Regions from separate parts of the Homo sapiens genome. Here all the other regions are linked to region 4. Evidence: promoter capture Hi-C in 16 types of primary human blood cells and fetal thymus (Javierre and others, 2016). All regions are on one chromosome and are shown on one strand. The core of a region is centred on a gene start or on the middle of the fragment in contact, and the rest is flanking DNA. Distances in the headings are between cores, read along the strand shown.

The links. The method cuts DNA at HindIII sites, captures the fragments that hold promoters and counts their contacts. A CHiCAGO score of 5 or more calls a contact.
Region 1: a fragment that was not itself captured here is called in contact with the fragment with the promoter of TTLL1-AS1 in region 4 in 1 of 17 cell types (neutrophils); the score reaches 6.8 in neutrophils.
Region 2: a fragment that was not itself captured here is called in contact with the fragment with the promoter of TTLL1-AS1 in region 4 in 3 of 17 cell types (neutrophils, endothelial precursors and M1 macrophages); the score reaches 7.9 in neutrophils.
Region 3: a fragment that was not itself captured here is called in contact with the fragment with the promoter of TTLL1-AS1 in region 4 in 1 of 17 cell types (neutrophils); the score reaches 10.6 in neutrophils.

What each region holds. Positions count from the first base shown.
Region 1 is chr22:42,800,173-42,804,720 of GRCh38, reverse strand. The region is part of intron 14 of ARFGAP3 (ARF GTPase activating protein 3); the gene reads left to right. Among named protein-coding and RNA genes, the nearest start is that of ARFGAP3, 55 kb to the left of the region's middle. The HindIII fragment of the contact is 3,735 bases long and covers 1,196-4,548 here.
Region 2 is chr22:42,839,863-42,844,565 of GRCh38, reverse strand. ARFGAP3 (ARF GTPase activating protein 3) reads left to right here. Exons shown (of 16, transcript NM_014570.5): 3 at 3,550-3,622. Among named protein-coding and RNA genes, the nearest start is that of ARFGAP3, 15 kb to the left of the region's middle. The HindIII fragment of the contact is 407 bases long and covers 2,755-3,161 here.
Region 3 is chr22:42,823,336-42,828,204 of GRCh38, reverse strand. ARFGAP3 (ARF GTPase activating protein 3) reads left to right here. Exons shown (of 16, transcript NM_014570.5): 7 at 1,206-1,265; 8 at 4,503-4,549. Among named protein-coding and RNA genes, the nearest start is that of ARFGAP3, 32 kb to the left of the region's middle. The HindIII fragment of the contact is 3,142 bases long and covers 1,452-4,593 here.
Region 4 is chr22:43,036,724-43,041,566 of GRCh38, reverse strand. It overlaps TTLL1-AS1 (TTLL1 antisense RNA 1), which reads right to left and starts at 2,982. Exons shown (of 3, transcript NR_125362.1): 1 at 1,303-2,982; 2 at 266-356. It overlaps TTLL1 (TTL family tubulin polyglutamylase complex subunit L1), which reads left to right. Exons shown (of 11, transcript NM_012263.5): 11 at 1,662-2,051. The coding sequence ends at 1,791. The HindIII fragment of the contact is 751 bases long and covers 2,886-3,636 here.

The DNA.
Region 1 (4,548 bases), core at 1,814-4,313, 240 kb after region 4:
AACATGGTGAAACCCCATCCCTTCTAAAAATACAAAAATTAGGCCAGTCACAGTGGCTCACGCCTGTAATCCCAGTACTTTGGGAGGCCGAGGCGGGTGGATCACGAGGTCAAGAGATCGAGACCAGCCTGGCCAACATGGTGAAGCCCCATCTCTACTAAAAATACAAAAACTAGCTTGGCGTGGTGGCATGTGCCTGTAGTCCCAGCTACTCCGGAGGCTGAGGCAGGAGTATCGCTTGAACCTGGGAGGTGGGAGTTGCAGTGTGCCGAGATCACACCGCTGCACTCCAGCCTGGAGACAGAGCGAGACTCCATCTCAAAAAAAAAAAAAAAAAAAAAAAATTAGCTGGGTGTGGTGGTGGGCGCCTGTAATCCCAACCACTCAGGCGGCTGAGGCACAAGAATTGCTTGAACCTGGGACGGGGATGTTGCAGTGGCCGAGATCGCACCATTACACTCCAGCCTGGGCAATAGAATGAGATTCTGTTTCAAAAAAAAGAAAAGGAAAAAAGAAACTATTCTGCTTGGTGGCTCACCCCTATAATCCAGCACTTTGGGAGGCTGAGGAAGACGTATCGCTTGAGCTCAGGAGTTCCAGACCAGCCTGGGCAACATGGCAAAACCGTGTCTCTACAAAAAATACAAAAATTAGCCAGGCATGGTGGTGCACACCTGTAGTCCCAGCTACTCTGGAGGCTAAGGTGGGAGGATGACCTGAGCCCAGGAGGCAGAGGTTACAGTGATCTGAGATCGTGCCACTGCACTCCAGCCTGGGTGATAGAGCCAGGCCTTGTATCAAAAAAAAAAAAAAAAAAAAAGAGGAAGGAGGGAGGGAAGGAAGGAAGGAAGGAAACAATCAGTTCTGTGTTCCTTATCTTAATTTCCAAATGTGAAACGCTTCTGGTGAGGTAAGCTGCTTTCTGGGGGTGTTTCTAGCCCAGGAGACCTGCGGCCGTTCTTACGGGCACTCTCTTTCACTGTAGCTGAAGGATTGAGTGGGAAGCGCATGTAAGTGCCTGCAGCCAACCTGACCTGGCACAGCAACAGTCCCTGTGGTCACACCCATGGGACAGGGTCATTAGAGCTGGGGGACTGCCATCAGCTGGGCACTGCCTCAGGCAGGCGTGAGGCACTCAGACACCAGATGACAGAGTGGAGGCAGCTGTGTGAGAGCCAGGATACAACAAAAAGCTTAAAACCCAGCTGCCCCCTCAGCATGTTTCCTCCCAGAAAGCCAATTCTGATTGTTTGAATGAGAGCACGTCTGCATGGGAGTGCAGACACCTGCACCCCTTCCTTGTGTGCATCGTGGGGTCAAGTGGTAGGTTGTTTGTGAGGTCCCTTAACCACTGTCTCCTTTTCTCTTTGCTCCAGCCCAGGGTCTAGGAGTGTGACCTCGAAAGCACTGCCCTCAGTCTGCATCAGGCAGTCTGGTTTGGTTATTGCCATGTGTGCTTGTCAGACAGTATAGCTGTGCAGTGGCCCCAGGAGTTCCAGACCAGCCTGGACAACATAGTGGGACCCCCATCTCTACAAAAAATTTAAAAAATAAAAAAATTAGCTAGGTGCGATGGCTAATGCCTATAGTTCCAATTACTCGGAGGCTAAGGCAGGAGGATCACTTGAACCCAAAAGATTGAGGCTGCAGTCAGCTGTGATCACACCACTGTACTCCAGCCCGGGCAACAGAGGGAGTCCCTGTCTCAAACAAACAATGCCCAAACTTGTTCTTATAATCTTGGAAATACTTTTTCTCTTCATTTGTCTGCATGAAGCAGAGAAATTAATACGTGGTATTCTATTAAAAATTCTTATTTTGGGCCAGGTGTGGTGGCTCACGCCTGTAATCCCAGCACTTTGGGAGGCCGAGGCGGGCAGATCACGGGTCAGGAGATCGAGACCATCCTGGCTAACATGGTGAAACCACATCTCTACTAAAAATACAAAAAATTAGCCAGGCATGGTGGTGGGCGCCTGTAGTCCCAGCAACTCGGGAGGCTGAGGCAGGAGAATGGCGTGAACCTGGGAGGTGGAGCTTGCAGTGAGCCGAGATCGCACCACTGCACTCCAGCCTGGGCAACAGAGCAAGACTCCATCTCAAAAAAAAAAAAAAAATTCTTATTTTGGGCCAGGCGCGGTGGCTCTCGCCTGTAATCCCAGCACTTTGGGAGGCTGAGGCGGGTGGATCACAAGGTCAGGAGATTGAGACCATCCTGGCTAACACGGTGAAACCCCATCTCTACTAAAAAATACAAAAAAAAAAAAATTATCTGGGCGTGGTGGCGGGCACCTGTAGTCCCAGCTACTCCAGAGGCTGAGGCAGGAGAATGGCGTGAACCTGGGAGGCGGAGCTTGCAGTGAGCTAAGATCGCGCCACTACACTCCAGTCTGGGTGACACAGCGAGACTCTGTCTCAAAAAAAAAAAAAAATTGTTATTTTGAGGAGCCTGGGAGTTGTCCTGGAAACTTCCACCTCCCACGTCACACCATAGACCCATATGATCAGAATCTCTCCTGGGTGACTCCAGACCTGAAACGTGGCCACAACCCGCTGCTTGGTCCTCCTGCCTCCAGTCTTGGCTGCTGCTCACCCCTCTCCTCACTCTTCCCACAGGGATCTTTCAGAACACAGTCATCTGTGCTGAAAATCCTGCCCTCAGCTTGAAGCACAGCTCCCCACCCAATGCCCACCTCCAGGACCATGGTTCCCACTGGCCTTTCCAGCCTCATTTCTCGTGATTCACTGTTGTGGCTCACTCCAGCTGTGTTGAGCCTGTGGAGCCCCCAGCCCAGAATGCTCTTCTTCCCCATTCCCCCAGACAGCCCCGCAACCCGTATTTACCCTGGGGGCCTGGTTAGGCCCCCTTGCACCACTCTTGTGCCTTACACTGAGGGCAAGACCATGCGAAGACCGTCTCCCCCAGTGGACTGTCAGTTCTCATTTCTGTGCCCTTGGCGCCTGACAGCCTGGCAGAGGAAGCCCTCTGCAGGTGTTTGAGGATGAATGGGTGGAGGGGTGATGAATGACCCCAAGGAGCTTGCTGAGTCTGAGCACCTGCCCACCGGCCAACATAGGCTGGAACACGCCTCCCCCTACCTCCCATGTCCCATGGCCAGTGCCAGGCTGCAGGGGCGATGTGTTCCGCCTCCAGCACAAGCCTTAAGAGCTGTGCGCATGTTGCCATGTTTCTTTCCCTGTCATAGTAGGCAAGGAAGCTGGAATTAAGAGGTGGCCCCATGGGCTTGGACCGCAAGTGACTGTGATGCACAGAACCCCCTGCCCACCTGCACTGGGCACAGCAAACATCAGTTGTGGGTGGTTGTTAGCTCAGAGTCACCTGGCCTGTCCTGACCCATCCAGGGCATTTGCCCCAACCACAGACCACTGTGTAGCTCAGTGTCCCCTCTGTCTCAGAGAGGGGAGCAGCTGTCTTCTTCCTGGCTGCCCAAGCAGAAACCTGGGAAACATCCTTAATCCGCCTGCCTCTCAGCCTGCCTAGGCCAGTCAGTCAGTGTGCCTCTTGACACCTGCCTCCTGAGGACGCTCAGCCCGTTCCCTCCTGATCCCCACTGCCGCCTCCTCATGCTCAGGCACCGCCCCATGCACCTGGACCCCTGCAGCCACCTCCCAGCTGTCTACCTGAGTTTGCTCTGTGTCCCCTCCAGATGACACAGGTCACACTTTAGTGATGTTATCAGTTAATTGTCTGCTTTCCCCAGTAGGTGGTGAGCTGTGGAAAAGCAGGTCTGTAGCTGTGTCCTCAGTACACACTGTGGGTGTTCTGGGAAAAGATAGGGAGGAGAGATTCCCTGGGTCAAGGACGCTCTTCCTGAGCAGGTGGCTGGAACTGTCATTTCCTGGAGCTCATTGTGTAACCTGAGCACACTAGGGCTGTCTTTGACCATGGCCACCCGGCCCCTCCAGCCTGCCCAGGCAGCCCTCAGAGGAGACACAGCACCCCAGTCCCATCACTGTGTTGGAATTACACTCTGTCATTGGTGAAGGCCTACAAGATTTTAGACAGTCAGCTGGAGGTGGAGATGGGAGGACCTGCATCTGTGGTGGGCATGGGAACAGTGCTGGGGGCAAATGCAGTGTCTCTTCCAAGGGACACGTTGCAGGGTAACTTGTCAGTTCTGTTTTATTCTCAGAGAGGGACTTGACCAAGGCTTTCTGTTTTTGTTTTTGAGATGGGGTCTCGCTCTGTCACCCAGGCTGGAGTGGGGTGGCACAGTCTTGGCTCACTGCAACCTCCACCTCCCAGGTTCAAGTGATTCTCCTGCCTCAGCCTCCCAAGTAGCTAGGGTTACAGGTGTGTGCCACCATGCCCAGCTAATTTTTTGTATTTTTAGTAGAGATGGGGTTTCACCATGTTGGCCAGGCTGGTCTTGAACTCCTGACCTCAAGTGATCCTCCCACCTCAGCCTCCCAGAGTGCTGGGATTACAGGCGTGAGCCACTGCGTCTGGTGGGTTTCTGTTTTGTAAGGAGCAGGTGGTGTCATGTGGGGCTTAGGGAGTAGCTGGGCGTGGCTACTCCTGAGGAC
Region 2 (4,703 bases), core at 1,709-4,208, 200 kb after region 4:
TCCCCTCGGCTGGAGTGCAATGGCATGATCTCAGCTCACTGCAACCTCCGCCTCCCGGGTTCAAGCAATTCTCCTGCTTCAGCCTCCGAAGTAGCTGGGATTACAGGTGTGTGCCACCACACCCAGCTAATTTTTGTATTTTTACTAGAGACGGGGTTTCACCATGTTGGCCAGGCTGGTCTTGAACTCCTGACCTCATGTGATCCACCCACCTCAGCTTCCCAAAGTGCTGGGTTTACAGGCATGAGCCACAGCACCTAGCCGAGCATGGGAGTTTGAGGCTGCAGTGAGCTATGATCTCACCACTTCACTTCAGTCTGGGTGACAGAACAAAGACCCTGACTCAAAAAACAACAACAACCACCACCAAAAAAAGAAACAAAAAAAACCACTAGCTAATTGGGAAAAAATCCAAGCAGCCCCAAAATATATAAAGTCTCTCCTCTAGAATACTTTTCCCCTCTTCTTCCCCTCCCACTGCCAGACACACACACATGCACTGCTTCCTGTGTGGCATGGGTGGTGTGCATATTTAACTGGAGTTTTTTTTCTTTAACTAGAATTTCAAGTCAACAAATTTACAGAGGAAAAATAATTTATAAGTTATGGCTTTTGCCAAGCAAAGGGGGGAAGGCAGATTAAGAGTATATGGAGAGGGCAAACTGCATTGGTTGCTGACTGCTCCCAGAGTGGACCAGATTGAACTGACCTCTGCCCCTTTTCACCTCCATTGCTGGGATCTCCATGTTTCAGGCTGCTCCTCCCCTCTAGCTCTGTTTTTTCTCAAGTTTGCCGTTACGTATTTCATGAGCTTATTAAAGGTGAATGGGATCCCTGCATCGATCTTGTTGGCCTGGGGTTAGGGACAGGCTTAAATACAACGTAAATAAGAAGATAGACTGCAAAGTTATGCATGAGAGATGGAAACTAAGTCCTGTGCCCACTTCTGGTTGGAAAATAAGGCAAAGTTTAAAAGAGGTAACATTTGCAATGAACTTGGAAGGTTTGGTGAGGTTTTGATAATGGAGACAAGGCCGGGCATGGTGGCTTGCGCCTGTAATCCCAGCACTTGGGAGGCCGGGGTGGGAGGATAGCTTGAGCCCAGGAGTTTAAGACCAACCTGGGCAACATAGTGAGACCTCATCTCTACGACAACAAAAAAAGATAATGGAGACAAGGGAGGGAAAATTGAGGTCAGCACTCGGACCTTCAGATATAAAAGCAGGAAAAAGCGAAATGCTTTGTAGCGACTTTTTGTATGCATAGGAAAATAAAGAGAAGTAAGGGTGAAAGGAGAGGATCTGTGTCATATTGTGGAGCGCTTTAGCTGCCACACTGGGAGCTAAAAGTTCACTCCTGAGGCCCTGGAGGGGTGAGGCATGTGGGGAGGCTGACTCAGCCTGGGCAGAGCAGGAGACAGCATCAGGAAGAGGTGAGGACCGAGGCTGAGGATGCAGGAGCGGGGATGTGGTTGGGGGGTCGGGGGGAGGCAAATCTGAGCTGTCCTTTCCTGGCCTTGGGTGTGTTCCTTACCTCTGAATGTCTTGCTTTCCTTCTCTTGAAAGTGAGGGTGAGAATACTAGGACCTGCCGTACAGGGTGTTGGCAGGAGCGAGCAAGAGAGCCCCATACAGCCTGGCACATAGTGAGCCCTAGAACATGTTGATGATGACCAGGGCAGAATCTGGGCTCCTGCTCGGTGGACACTGGGGAGAACCTTTTTATGATGTTGGCGTAGAAAGGCAACGCTTTTTATGACCTTATAGAGGTAATCAAACAAGTTATAAACAAAGGGCGGCTGGGAAATTACTGAGATTGTCTATAAGTAAAACTCTAGATTAATAATGGTATGCACTTTGGGAGGCTGAGATGAGGGGATTGCTTGAGGCCAGGAGTTCGAGACTAGCCTGGCGAACATGGCAAAACCCCGTCTCTACTAAAATTACGAAAATTAGCCAGGTGTGGTTCCGCACGCCTCTAATCCCAGCTACCTCTGGAGGCTGGGGCACAAGAATTGCTTGAATCCAGAAGGCAGAGATTACCATGAGCTGAGATCGCCTCACTGCACTCTAGCCTGGGCAACAGAACGAGGCTGTGTCTCAAAAAAAAAAAGGTATGGTTCACTGGGCATGGTGGCTCACACCTGTAATCCCAACACTGAGAGGCTGAGGTGGGAGGATTGCCTGAGCCCAGGAGTTCTAGACCATCTTGGGCAACATAACAAGACCCTATCTCTATTTAAAAAAAAAAAAAAAAAAAAAAGGCCAGGCACGGTGGCTCATGCCTGTAATCACAGTACTTTGGGAGGCCAAGGTGGGTGGATCACCTAAGGTCGGGAGTTTGAGACCAACCTGACCAACATGAAGAAACCCTGTCTCTGCTAAAAATACAAAAATTAGCCGGGCGTAGTGACACCTGCCTGTTATCCCAGCTACCCAGGAGGCTGAGGCAGGAGAATCACTTGAACCCAGGAGGCAGAGGTTGCGGTGAGTCAAGATCGCACCATTGCACTCCAGCCGGGGCAACTCCGTCTCAAAAAAAAAAAAAAAAAAAAAGCCCGGCATGGTAGCTACCATCTACTTGGGAGGTTGAGACAGGAGGATTGCTTGAGCAATCCTGGTTGAGGCTGCAATGAGCTGTGATCACACCACTCCATTCCTGGGTGATGGAGTGAGACCCTGTCTCAAAAAAAAAAAAAAAAGAAATTAGTAAATATAAGGGCAGCACAAAGGAAAGTTTTGGTGGACCTAAAGCTTCTTTTCTTTTCTTTCTTCCTTGCCCATTTTGTAAAAGGTATTCTGCCTATACTCATTCTAAAATATCCACATTCCTTTACAGTTAGTGTAGGGCAAGCTATTACTGAATAACAACCTCTGCTTTTTGCTCATTTCTGTGGATTCAGTATAAAGATTCTAACATTGTTGCTTTACCGTCGACCCCTTGGGGAATGTGCATTGTTGAGGCTATACTCACTGCCTTTACTTGTTTCAGATTTGATCTTACAGTGGAGAGAAGTTAGGCATAAGGTGTGGAAGGGGCAGGAAGTGCTTGTAGCTTTCACTTCAGGAGCATGAAATCTTGTGTTTTTTCCTCTCTCTGCTGGTCGTGATGTTGGGTAGGTCTCTTCTACCTTGTGATAAGAGAATGAGCATCCTCCAAGCTTCTGGTAGCGATCAAACTGGACAAGTAGATCACCGACCTGAAAACATCCAAACAGTGCATCTGTTTCAAGTAGAGACACATTACCAAATTTCAAATCATATCCAACCAAGGATGGGAGGCAAAGAGTTGGTGTCGTTCCAGCAGCCCGCTGACACTTGTCATGTCCCTGTGCCCTGCATTCCAGGAAGGACGAGAGGAGCCAGGGGTTGCTCACGCCAACCATCATCCACTCTGGAGTCCTAGCATCCCAAAAGTGTGGGTCCTTGTTGACACAAACTTAGAATTCTTTAGGATCCTAAAGCCTAAGGAAACCTTGTTCTCAAAAGCTCACTGATTTTGCTCCTGGGGATAAAAAATATTAACAGTTAGTAATATTCTTTCCATTTAGATCTACAGAGTTGGATTCCAACTGGTCATGGTTTCAGTTGCGATGCATGCAAGTCGGAGGAAACGCTAGTGCAGTAAGTTCATCTCAAACTCGTCATTTTCCTTCTTGTTTAAATATTTGTTATGCTATAATAGTAAAGAAGCTCAGGCTAGGTGCAGTGGCTCATGCCTGTAATCTCAGCCATTTGGGAGGCTGAAATTACAGGCGTTTGGGAGGATCACTGGAGCCCAGGAGTTCAAGACCACCCTGGGCAACATGGCAAGACCCTCTGTTTATAAAAAACAAACAAGTCAGGTGTGGTGTCTCACGCCTGTAATCCCAACACTTTGGGAGGCTGAGGCGGGCGGATCACTTGAGGTCAAGAGTTCGAGACCAGCCTGGCCAACATGGTGGAACCCCATCTCTACTAAAAAAAAAATAATAATAACAAAAATTAGCTGGGTATGGTGGTGCACACCTGTAATCCCAGCTACTCGGGAGGCTGAGGCGGGAGAGTTGCATGAACCTGGGAGGCAGAGGTTGCAGTGAGCCGAGATCACACCACTGCACTCCAGCCTGGGTGACAGAGCGAGACTCCATCCCAAAAAAACAAACAAACAAACAAAAAGAGTTCAATACTTGAAAGTTTGGGAGGCCCTATGAGAAGAAGCAGAGAGCCTGATGGGTTTTGGAGTTGGACAGACCCAGTTGACTTGTTTATTCAAAAATCTGTTAAACACCTAATAAACAGGAAGCGTTGGCTAGCTGCTGGGGATATAGTGACAGACAAGACAAACAAGATCCCCAGCTGGGCACGGTGGCTCATGCTTGTAATCCTAGAACTTTGGGAGGCTGAGGCAGGCAGATCGCCTTGAGCCCATGAATGTAAGACTGACCTGGACAACATGACAAAACTCCGTTTCTGCAAAAAATGCAAAAATTAGCAAATCATGGTGGTGCATACCTGTAGTCCCAGCTACTCGGGAGGCTGAGGTGGGAGGATCTCTTGAGCCTGGGAGGTAGAGGTTGCAGTGAGCTGAGATCGCACCATTGTGCTCCAGCCTGGTTGATAGAGTGAGATCAGTGATAGATAGAGTGAGTTGATAGATTATCAAAATAATAAATTAAAATAACCAATATCCCCTCTTATAGGGGATATTTTATTATAAATAAAA
Region 3 (4,869 bases), core at 1,773-4,272, 210 kb after region 4:
ATGATGCGTCCCCCTTGGCCTCCCGAAGTGCTGGGATTACAGGCGTGAGCCACCACACCTGGCCCTCATCTTTGTATTTTTTAGTAGATATGGGGTTTCACCATGTTGGTCAGGCTGGTCTCAAACTCCTGACCTCAAGTGATCTGCCCGCCTCGACCTCCCAAAGTGCTGGGATTACAGGCATAAGCCACCACAAGCCCAGCCTACACTTTATCTATTTTTAAAGTAATAAATAAAATAAAATTAAAATAACAAAGTATGGTTGGGCGCGGTAGCTCACGCCTGTAATACCAACACTTTGGGAGGCCAAGGTGGGAGGTCTCGAACTCCTGAGCTCACGCAGTGTGCCCAACTTGGCCTCCGAAAGTTCTGGGATTACAGGTGTGAGCCACTGTGCCAGGCTTTTAATGAAGGCTTCATAGAGTTGCTAACCAGGATCACTTTTTAGGTAAAATAGAATAAACAAGGCAGATTTCTTGGCAACTGAAAATTTAGATTTCTATCACTGATGTAATTGGTATTAGAATTTCCACATATTAGGCCGGGTTCAGTGGCTCACGCCTGTAATCCTGGCACTTCGGGAGGCCAAGGCGGGTGGACCACCTGAGGTCAGGAATTTGAGACCAGCCTGACCAACATGGAGAAACCCCATCTCTACTAAAAATACAAAATTAGCCGGGCATGGTGGCGCATGCCTGTAATCCCAGCTACTCGGGTGGCCGAGGCAGGATAATGGCTTGAACCCGGGAGGCGAAGGTTGCAGTGAGCCGAGATCGTGCCATTGCACTCCAGCTTGGGTAAGAAGAGTGAAATTCTGTCTCCAAAAGAAAAAAAAACAAAACAAAACAAGGATTTCCACATATTAACATACATTGGGTATGTATAGTCCACAGAGGTAGTAAGTATCTTTTGACAGGTCACATTAAATCACCAGATCATAAGGTAGAATTTTGAATCGTATTAGTTGAAGAGACCACTAACATTTTTATTTGATAAAGCCATTGGATTAAAAATAAACTTCTACTTTAATGGACTTTTAAGTCAAAATTCTTATAACGTTAAAATAGAATATACAGCTAAAAAGGTAGGTGATCATTGACAAAATTGGATAAGATGTAGCACTGAGCAAGTTGAATTATTATATATTCAAAAGCAAGTTAGCTGAGTATATTTTCTGCGCTAATATCAATGTTTTGAATTTTCAGGTGGACAAGAGCAAGGACCAAGTGTGGAAGGTCTTAATGTACCAACAAAGGCTACTTTAGGTAATATGCTTAAAATCCTACATTCTGATTTAAAGTGTATGACTCATTAAGAAAAAAATAAATCCTCTTGCATTTGGCCTGGGCATCTCACCTGACGGAGTAATATAATCATGACCGAATCTGTTAATAAGATTTTATTAAACAAAAGATACTATATATATATGTTTTTTATTCATCTCTCAAGCTTCCAACAAAGATGCTACATTTTAACCAGCTTGATAATATAAAATGCAGCATTGTGGCTGGGGGCAGTGGCTCACACCTGTAATCCTAACGCTTTATGAAGCCGAGGTGGTCAGATCGCTTGAGCCCAGGAGTTCGAGACCAGCTTGGGCAACACAGCGAAACCTTAGCTCTACAAAACAACAACAACAACAACAACAACAACAAAAATTACCTGAGTGTGGTGGCACACATCTGTAGTCCCAGCTACTTGGGAGACTGAGGCAGGAGGATCACTTGAGCCTGGGAGGTTGAGGCTGCAGTGAGCCATGATCACACCACTGCACTCTGCCCTGGGTGACAGAGTGATACCTTGTCTCAAAAAAAAAAAAAAGCAGCAATGTGCACATTTAGCCAATATGGCTGCTGATGGTTTTGATTCGTGGGTTTATGTTGGGCTGGCTCACCTTACGGAAATAAGCAGTGGTCAGAACATCTACACCATTCCTTTTTACTCAAGAACTCATTTTCTTCTCTTTCTGATTTTATTATAGGTGAACTTAATCTTAAATTTTTCATTATCAAGGAATTATAATTTGTAATTGTTATATATTCCATTGCATTAGTTGGAAAGCAGCTGCTTTGGTGAAAAATAACTAAACTGTTAGAAATGCTCCTGACATTTTCATCATGTTTTAGACTCGTCAGAGTTTGGGAGCAGGTTATGTGACTACTACAATACAAATCTGAAAGAAAGTAATGAAAAGGAAAACTCCCACAAGCATCTTTTTCACACTTGAAATGTAATGACGTTATTCTCTACTCACGGCTAAAGATTGTTATCTTTTGCTGTTTCTGGCTTTATGCTATCTTTTCCTATCAAAGCACATTCTTATCTTTATATGAAAAAATTAAGACTTTAATTTTGCTGGGTTTCTTAGACATAATTCTAAAGACAATATATAACCTATAAGTAAAATGTACTCAGAAAATGATTTTTAAGAAACTTTCTCTAAAAGTATTTTTGTGCAATTTAGAAAGTATTGTTATTAAAATAAGAGAATGCTTTATGTTTCTTTTTTTTTTTTTTTTGGAGACAGAGTCTCACTCTGTCACCCAGGCTGGAGTACACTGGCACGATCTCAGCTCACTGCAACCTCTGCCTCCCGGTGCCTCCTGGGTTCAAGCGATTCTCGTGCCTCAGCCTCCCAAGTAGCTGGGATTACAGGTGTGTGCCACCATGCCCAGCAAACTTTTTGTATTTTTAGTGGAGACGGGGTTTCACCATATTGTCCAGGCTGTTCTCAAACTCCTGACCTCAGGTGATCTGCCCGCCTTGGCCTCCCAAAGTGCTGGGATTACAGGCATGAGCCACCATGCCTGGCCGAGGATGCTTTATATTTATTTTGGCTAATATGATAAAATCTATATATAAGCCAAGGTGAAAAAGCACGTCACTGGCTGCTTTAGTTGTATACATAATGCCTAGCTAACTTTATTTTTATTATTGTTATTACTTTTTTGAGCTAGAGTCTCGCTTTATTGCCCATGCTGGAGTGCAGTGGGTGCAATCACAGTTCACTGCAGCCTGGCCCAAGAGATTCTCCTACCTCAGCCTCCCAAGTAGCTGGGACCACAGGCGCACGCCATCACACTGGACTAATGTTTTTTGTTTGTTTGTTTGTGGAGATGGAGTCTCCCTATGTTGTCCAGGCTGCGAACTTTATATTTTCAAATAAGTTTTATGCAGCCGTAAAAAAGAACAGTCATGTCCTTTGCAGCAACATGGCTGGAGGCCATTATCGTAAACAAACTAATGCAGAAACAAAACCAAATATCACATGTTTTCACTTATAAGTGGGGGCTAAATCTTGGGTTCATACGAACATAAAGATGGGAAGAGTAGACACTGAGGACTCCAAAAGGAGGGAGGGAGAGAGGGGAACAAGAGCTGAAACACTTCCTGTTGGATACTGTGCTCACTGTCTGGGTGATGGGATCAAGAGAAGCCCAAACCTCAGCACCACGCAATATACCCTTGTAACAAAACTGCACGTGTACTCCCTGAATCTAAAATAAAAATGGAAAATTATAATGATTTTTAAAGTTTTTGGGCTGGGCATGATAGTTCATACCTGTAATCCCAGCACTTTAGAAAGCCAAGGCAGGAGGATCACTTGAGGCCAGGAGTTCAAGACCAGACTGGGCAACATAGTGAGCTCCCCTGATGTCTACAAAAAAAAAAAAAAGAAAGAAAACCAGGCATGGTGGCATATGCCTGTAGTCCCAGCTACTAGGGAGGCTGAGACGAGAGGATCACTTGAATACAGGAGTTCAATGCTGCAGTGAGCTCTGATCACACTACTACACTCCAGCCTAGGTAATGGAGTGAGACCATCTCTAAAAAATTGTTAGATTTTTAAGTGTTTTAAAGTTTTTGAAGAGTAGCACTTGATAAAAGAGTTGTGGCATGGTGGCTCATACTCATAATTTCAGCACTTTGAGAGGCTGAGGCAGGAGCATCACTTGAGCCCAGGAGTCCAAGACCAGTCTGGGCAACATAGCAAGACACCCATCTCTAAAAAAAAAAAAAAAAAAAAAAAAAAATAGCCAGATGTGGTGGTGCGCACCTGTGATCCCAACTACTCAGGAGGCTGAAGTGGAAGGCTCCCTTGATCTGGGAGGTAATGCCACTGCACTCAGCTAAGGTGACAGAGCGAGACCCTGTCTCAAAAAAAAAAAAAAAGTTGTTGTAATATATTTTTTAAATGCTCCTGAAGAAAGTACTGAGAGGGGCAAGCTCAGGCTCTATTTCTCTTCAGTGTGCTGTTAAAAAAAAAAATACATTTTCTCTGAGTTTGGAGACTGCGTGGAAATACTGAGGACACCATTTTGACAAAGTTCTGTTAATCCAAAATATGCTTATCAACTTGAGTCTTCTGGATGAGAAACTAAAGTGGAAAATGTTATCATCTCTTAAATAATAAAGTGCAGTATCTTAGAATTTTAAAAGACACACTAAAAAAGAAAAATTATTTCTATTGGTCTTACTTTTTAATTTTTATTTTTTGGCAGAGGTATCCTCTATCATAAAAAAGAAACCAAATCAAGCTAAAAAAGGCGTGAGTATTATGTACTTTATATATAAAAATCTGGTAGTTAAGCTTTAAAACTAAAAAGCCGCTTCGTCATTTTAGTTTTATTCTTTTGAACCATCTTGTAATAAATGTAGCTTTGATATAAGGAGTCTATGTTTTGTTCAAAGAGATTAATGTCAAAGAGATTAATGTTATACTTATTGAATTTTTTCTAGAATGATTATTTAACATTTTTTCTGTCTATGACAAAATTCTGAAAAAAATTAACAAAGGTCCCCTGGGAATTTGTCTCCTGCTTGTGTAGATCAATAAGCAATGACATCTTGTGAGGCTTAGAGGGTGGT
Region 4 (4,843 bases), core at 1,733-4,232:
CTCCAGTCTGGGTGACCGTTTAAAAAAAAAAAAAGGAATCAGAAAATGCTTTCTTCCCACCTACTCTTTCAGTCCCAGTTTGCCACCAGAAGCACAATGCAGAAAATACATTCTTTAACCTCAGAAGTTTCTAACTCATACTACATTCAACCTGCAAACTCTGGTTTTGGTAATAAGCTTATCACAGAAATCCACCCTTTTCCAGAAGTCCACATGATTAGCACTCAGCATCTGGGTACCTTTTGTGTTTGACACAAATACCTACATACAACCGAGGGTCCTAGTCAGGATGGCCAGCGCAGCACACCGACGGATGTGCTTTAACTGGGGAAAGATGCTTTCCACACTCCTCAGCGCTATGGGACAAAAAACTCCGAATTAGAAATCAGAAGTCCTAGAGGTTAATCTTACCTGTGCCACAGGCCAGCTGTGGGACCCTAGGCCCTGAGCAAACCTCTAGAACCCCAGTTTCCCCCCATAGGAAGCAAGTCCTGGTGCTGCCGCCCGAGTTGGGAGGATAATGTCAGTCACCGTGGAGGGGGGCGGCCCCATTCCCCCAGCCTGCTCCCTGCCACAGCCTGCAATAGGTGCAGGCAGCAACGACCATGCTCCAGGACCCCGTGAGAGAAGGGCCCCGCCACTGTGGGAAGGACCCAGGACTTGCCCAGATGCTGTGACCACCCCGTCTGGGGAGCTGCAGCTGGCATCCAGCTCTTCCAGACACGAAAATTCAGGCTGTTTCCTACACTGCTGCCTCCTTAGCACACGCGGCCTTAGGATGCATGAACGTTAATTGGGAAACAGGCAGTTAAAGAAAATGGGGGCCAGGCACGGTGGCCCACGCCTGTCATCCCAGCACTTTGGGAGGCCGAATGGGCAGATCACCTGAGGTCAGGAGTTCGAGACCAGCCTGGCCAACATGGGGAAACCCTGTCTCTACTAAAAATACAAAAATTTGCTGGGTGTGGTGGTGGGCACCTATGATCCCAGCTACCTGAAAGGCTGAGGCAGGAGAATCGCTTGAACCAGGGAGGTGGAGGTTGTAGTGAGCCAAGATTGCGCCACTGTATACCAGCCTTGGTGATAGAGTGAAACTCCATCTCAAAAAAAAAGAAAATGGGGAGGGGTGGCGTGGGTCACACTGGCAGAGTCTCTAGCTGAGTGTGCACCGTGGGGCCTCTCTGCCCTGGCCTCCACTGACCAGTGCTCATGTACCACTCCCATCTGGAATGGAGTTAGTCCCCCCAGCCTGCAGGTGCCTTGTGTGAAGCGTTTCCAGCCAGGCAGTCTCACCTCACTTACCCTGGGCTGGTTCTGTGTCACCTCATGCATGTTGCCTTTGGAGTCATTGCCATATTTGACCTGGTGACCTGTATAAAATGTCAGCTTCCGAGGGGAGACCACTGTCCACAATAACAACAAGGTTGTACACATAGGCAGGCTGGCCTTGGGGAGCATTTGCTGGGCTGCGAGAGCCACCTGGCAGGCAGGTGGGCTGGAGCCAGGTGGGAGGTGGGCGGGAGCCAGCAGGAGTCGCGAGGGTGGGGCCCCCTCAGGCCGCTTCTCTGGGTGATGTCATATTTGCCACACAGCAGCCTGGTGGCCCTGCCTGTTGCCTTTGAAAGAGAGCCTGCCGTGATCCTGGCTGTTTCTGTCTCCAGGTATGATGAAGAATTGGCCCAGGGTGACGGGGCTGACCGGGAGCTGAGAAGCCGTCAGGGTCAGTCTCTGGGGCCCAGAGCAGGCCGATCGAGAGACTCGGGGAGAGCGGTCCTCACCACCTGGAAGTGAGTCCCACCTGGACCTTATCAAAACTACTCACTCCACCTGGGCCCCTGCTGAAGCCCTATTTTGAAATTTCCCTTTTGTAGAGCTTTTTTCCTTTCCTAAGCCCTGTAAATAAACGAAGGCACTTCTTTGGAAGGTTATGGAGTCTGTTTGACTAGTGCTAAAGGAAACAATTCATGCGGATGTATAAAACTCGCTCTTTTTTTTTTAATTTTTAACCTAAGCAGAATTTTCATATTAAAAACTCACTTTTTTGACAGAAAGTAACAGCTTCAAGCATGTAATTTGATGTGTCACAAGGTTTAAACATTAAAAAAACTTTACACTAAATTAAAAACAAAACAAATCTTATAGACTCGTCCTGCCACGAGAGAGGAATGTATTTAACTGACGGCTCTTTTAGTTGCGTTTCTTTTTACTTGACTGCGATTTTTTTTTTTTTTCCCGAGACAGAGTTTTGCTCTGTCGCCCAGGCTGGAGTGCACTGGCACAATCTTGGCTCACTGCAACCTCTGCCTCCTGGGTAGTATTTCTCCCACCTCAGGCTCCCAAGTAGCTGGGATTACAGGCGTGTGCCACCACACCTGGCTAATTTTTGTATTTTTAGTAGAGATGGGGTTTTGACCATGTTGGGCAGGCTGGTCTCAAACTCCTGACCTCAGGTGATCTGCCCACCTCGGCCTCCCAAAATGCTGGGATTACAGAGGTGAGCCACCACGCCCAGCTTACTTGACTGTGATTTTGAAGAAAACAGGCAACTAGAAATATTCCTCGGTAATTTATCTTTACAAAGGCCTTTGTCTAGGTGCTCCCAGGAAGACCTGTTTTCTTTTCTTTTCTTCTCTTTTCTTTTTTTTTTTCTTTTCAGACAGGATCTCGCCCTGTCACCCAGGCTGGAGTGCCGTGGTGCCATTGTGGCTCAACTTCCTGGGCTCAAGTGATCCGCTCACCTCAGCCTCCCGAGTAACTGGGACCACACAGGCACACACCACCACCCCCAGCTACTTTTTAAAGTTTTTTTTGTAGAGACAGAGTTTCACCATGTTGGCCAGGCTGTTCTCGAACTCCTGGGCTCAAGCGATACTCCTGCCTAAGCTTCCCAAAGTGTTGGGATTACAGGCATGAGCCACCACGCCTGGCTTCAAAAAGACCTGTTTCTACCACTTCGGTTTTGTGGATGAGTCTGTTGTAAATGGAACTAGATGAGCACAGACAGGTCCGGCTGTGTGCCTTTTATGACGTCAGCAGCTGGGTTTGCTACAGGGAAGCGCCGTGGGCAGCCAGGAGCTGTGGGAGGAGCGATGGCTGCGGGACAGGCTGCGCGAGCGTGGTTGTTCCCATGCAGTCTCCCGGTAGCCCGGTGACTTACAGGAGTGTATGGAGAGGACCTGAGTTGGTGGGTAGATGGACAGATGCATTTGAGTAATAACTCATGAGTTACAGTGCTGTTCTTAGGAAGGGTCTTTTTTTTTTTTTTTTTTTTTGAGGTGGAGTTTCACTCTTGACACCCAGGCTGGAGTGCAATGGCACAATCTAGGCTCACTGCAACCTCCACCTCCTGGGTTCAGGCGATTCTCATGGCTCAGCCTCCCAAAGAGGTGGGCTTACAGGCGCCTGCCACCACGCCCAACTAATTTTTGTATTTTTAGTGGAGACGGGGTTTCACCATGTTGGCCAGGCTGGTCTCGAACTCCTGACCTCAGGTGATCCTCCCGCCTCCGCCTCCCAAAGTGCTGAAATTACAGGCGTGAGCCACTGCGCCCGGCCAGGAAGGGCCTTTTACTCATGGTCGTATTAACACGTATTTGCTGAAGTTTCACTCGCTGTCTTGAGTTTATCTTTAAAGCTTGCCACCTGTTTTTGTTGCAATGCTAGTAACAGGAGTTTGTTCTCCCAAATGGCACCAAGGGTATGTCCTTCAGATAAGGGTCTTAACTGACTTGCCCAGGCTCTCTCAGTGCCCATGCATGGACGTGTGTCAAGTGTACATGCCATATTGTGTGTGTGTATATGAGTACATATATTTAATGATGTTTCACTGCCAATTAGGGAAAAATAGGTCTTTTCAACACAAATGGTACTTGGCTGGACTCCAAATAAACTACAATTGGTGGGCTTTTCAGCCATTCCTTCTTCGTGATCTTATTGGTATGTGTGTTGTGTGTGTTCCCTGGTGTTTAAGTTTTGTTTTGTTTTGTTTTGTTTTTGAGACAGAGTCTCGCTCTGTCGCCCAGCAGGCTGGAGTGCAGTGGCGCAACCTCAGCTCACTGCAATCTCTGCCTCCCGGGTTGAAGTGATTCTCGTGCCTCAGCTTCCCAAGTAGCTGGGATTACAGGTGTACACCACCATGCCCGGCTAATTTTTGTATTTTTAGTAGAGATGGGGCTTCACCATGTTGGCTAGGCTGGTCTCAAACTCCCAGCCTTAGGTGATCCGCCTGCCTCAGCCTTCCAGAGTGCTGGGAATACAGGTGTGAGCCACTGCGCCCAGCCGTGGGGTTTAGTTTTAATGTGTTTGCTGTTGATGGCGGGTGTGGGATGGAGATCCCCGAGTCAGACTTGGCCTTGTGGCCTGGCTCTGCTGTTTATTAGCTGTTTCCCAAGCCTGTCCCTGGGGTCGTTGCACCTTTGTTTCCCACTGTATAAAATGGGGAGTTCTGTGGCCGGGCGCAGTGGCTCATGCCTGTAATCCCAGCACTTTGGGAGGCCGAGGAGGGTGGATCATCTGAGGTCAGGAGTTCGAGACCAGCTTGGCCAACATGGTGAAACCTCATCTCTACTAAAAATACAAAAATTAGCCTGGAGGCTGAGGCAGGAGAATCGCTTGAACCCAGGAGGCGGAGGTTGCGGAGAGCCGAGATGGCGCCATTACACTCAAGCCTGGGCAATAAGAGCGAAACTCCGTCTCAAAAAAAAAAAGGGGGGGAGTTCTGTTTGCCTCAGAAACAACCAGTACCACCGCACAGGGACCCTGCCCGCACGCCTTGCTGGCTCTGGCGAGCCCTCTTACCTCCCAGGAGGGGGTGTCCTCTGCACAGCTGGCGGCTCCACCTCGG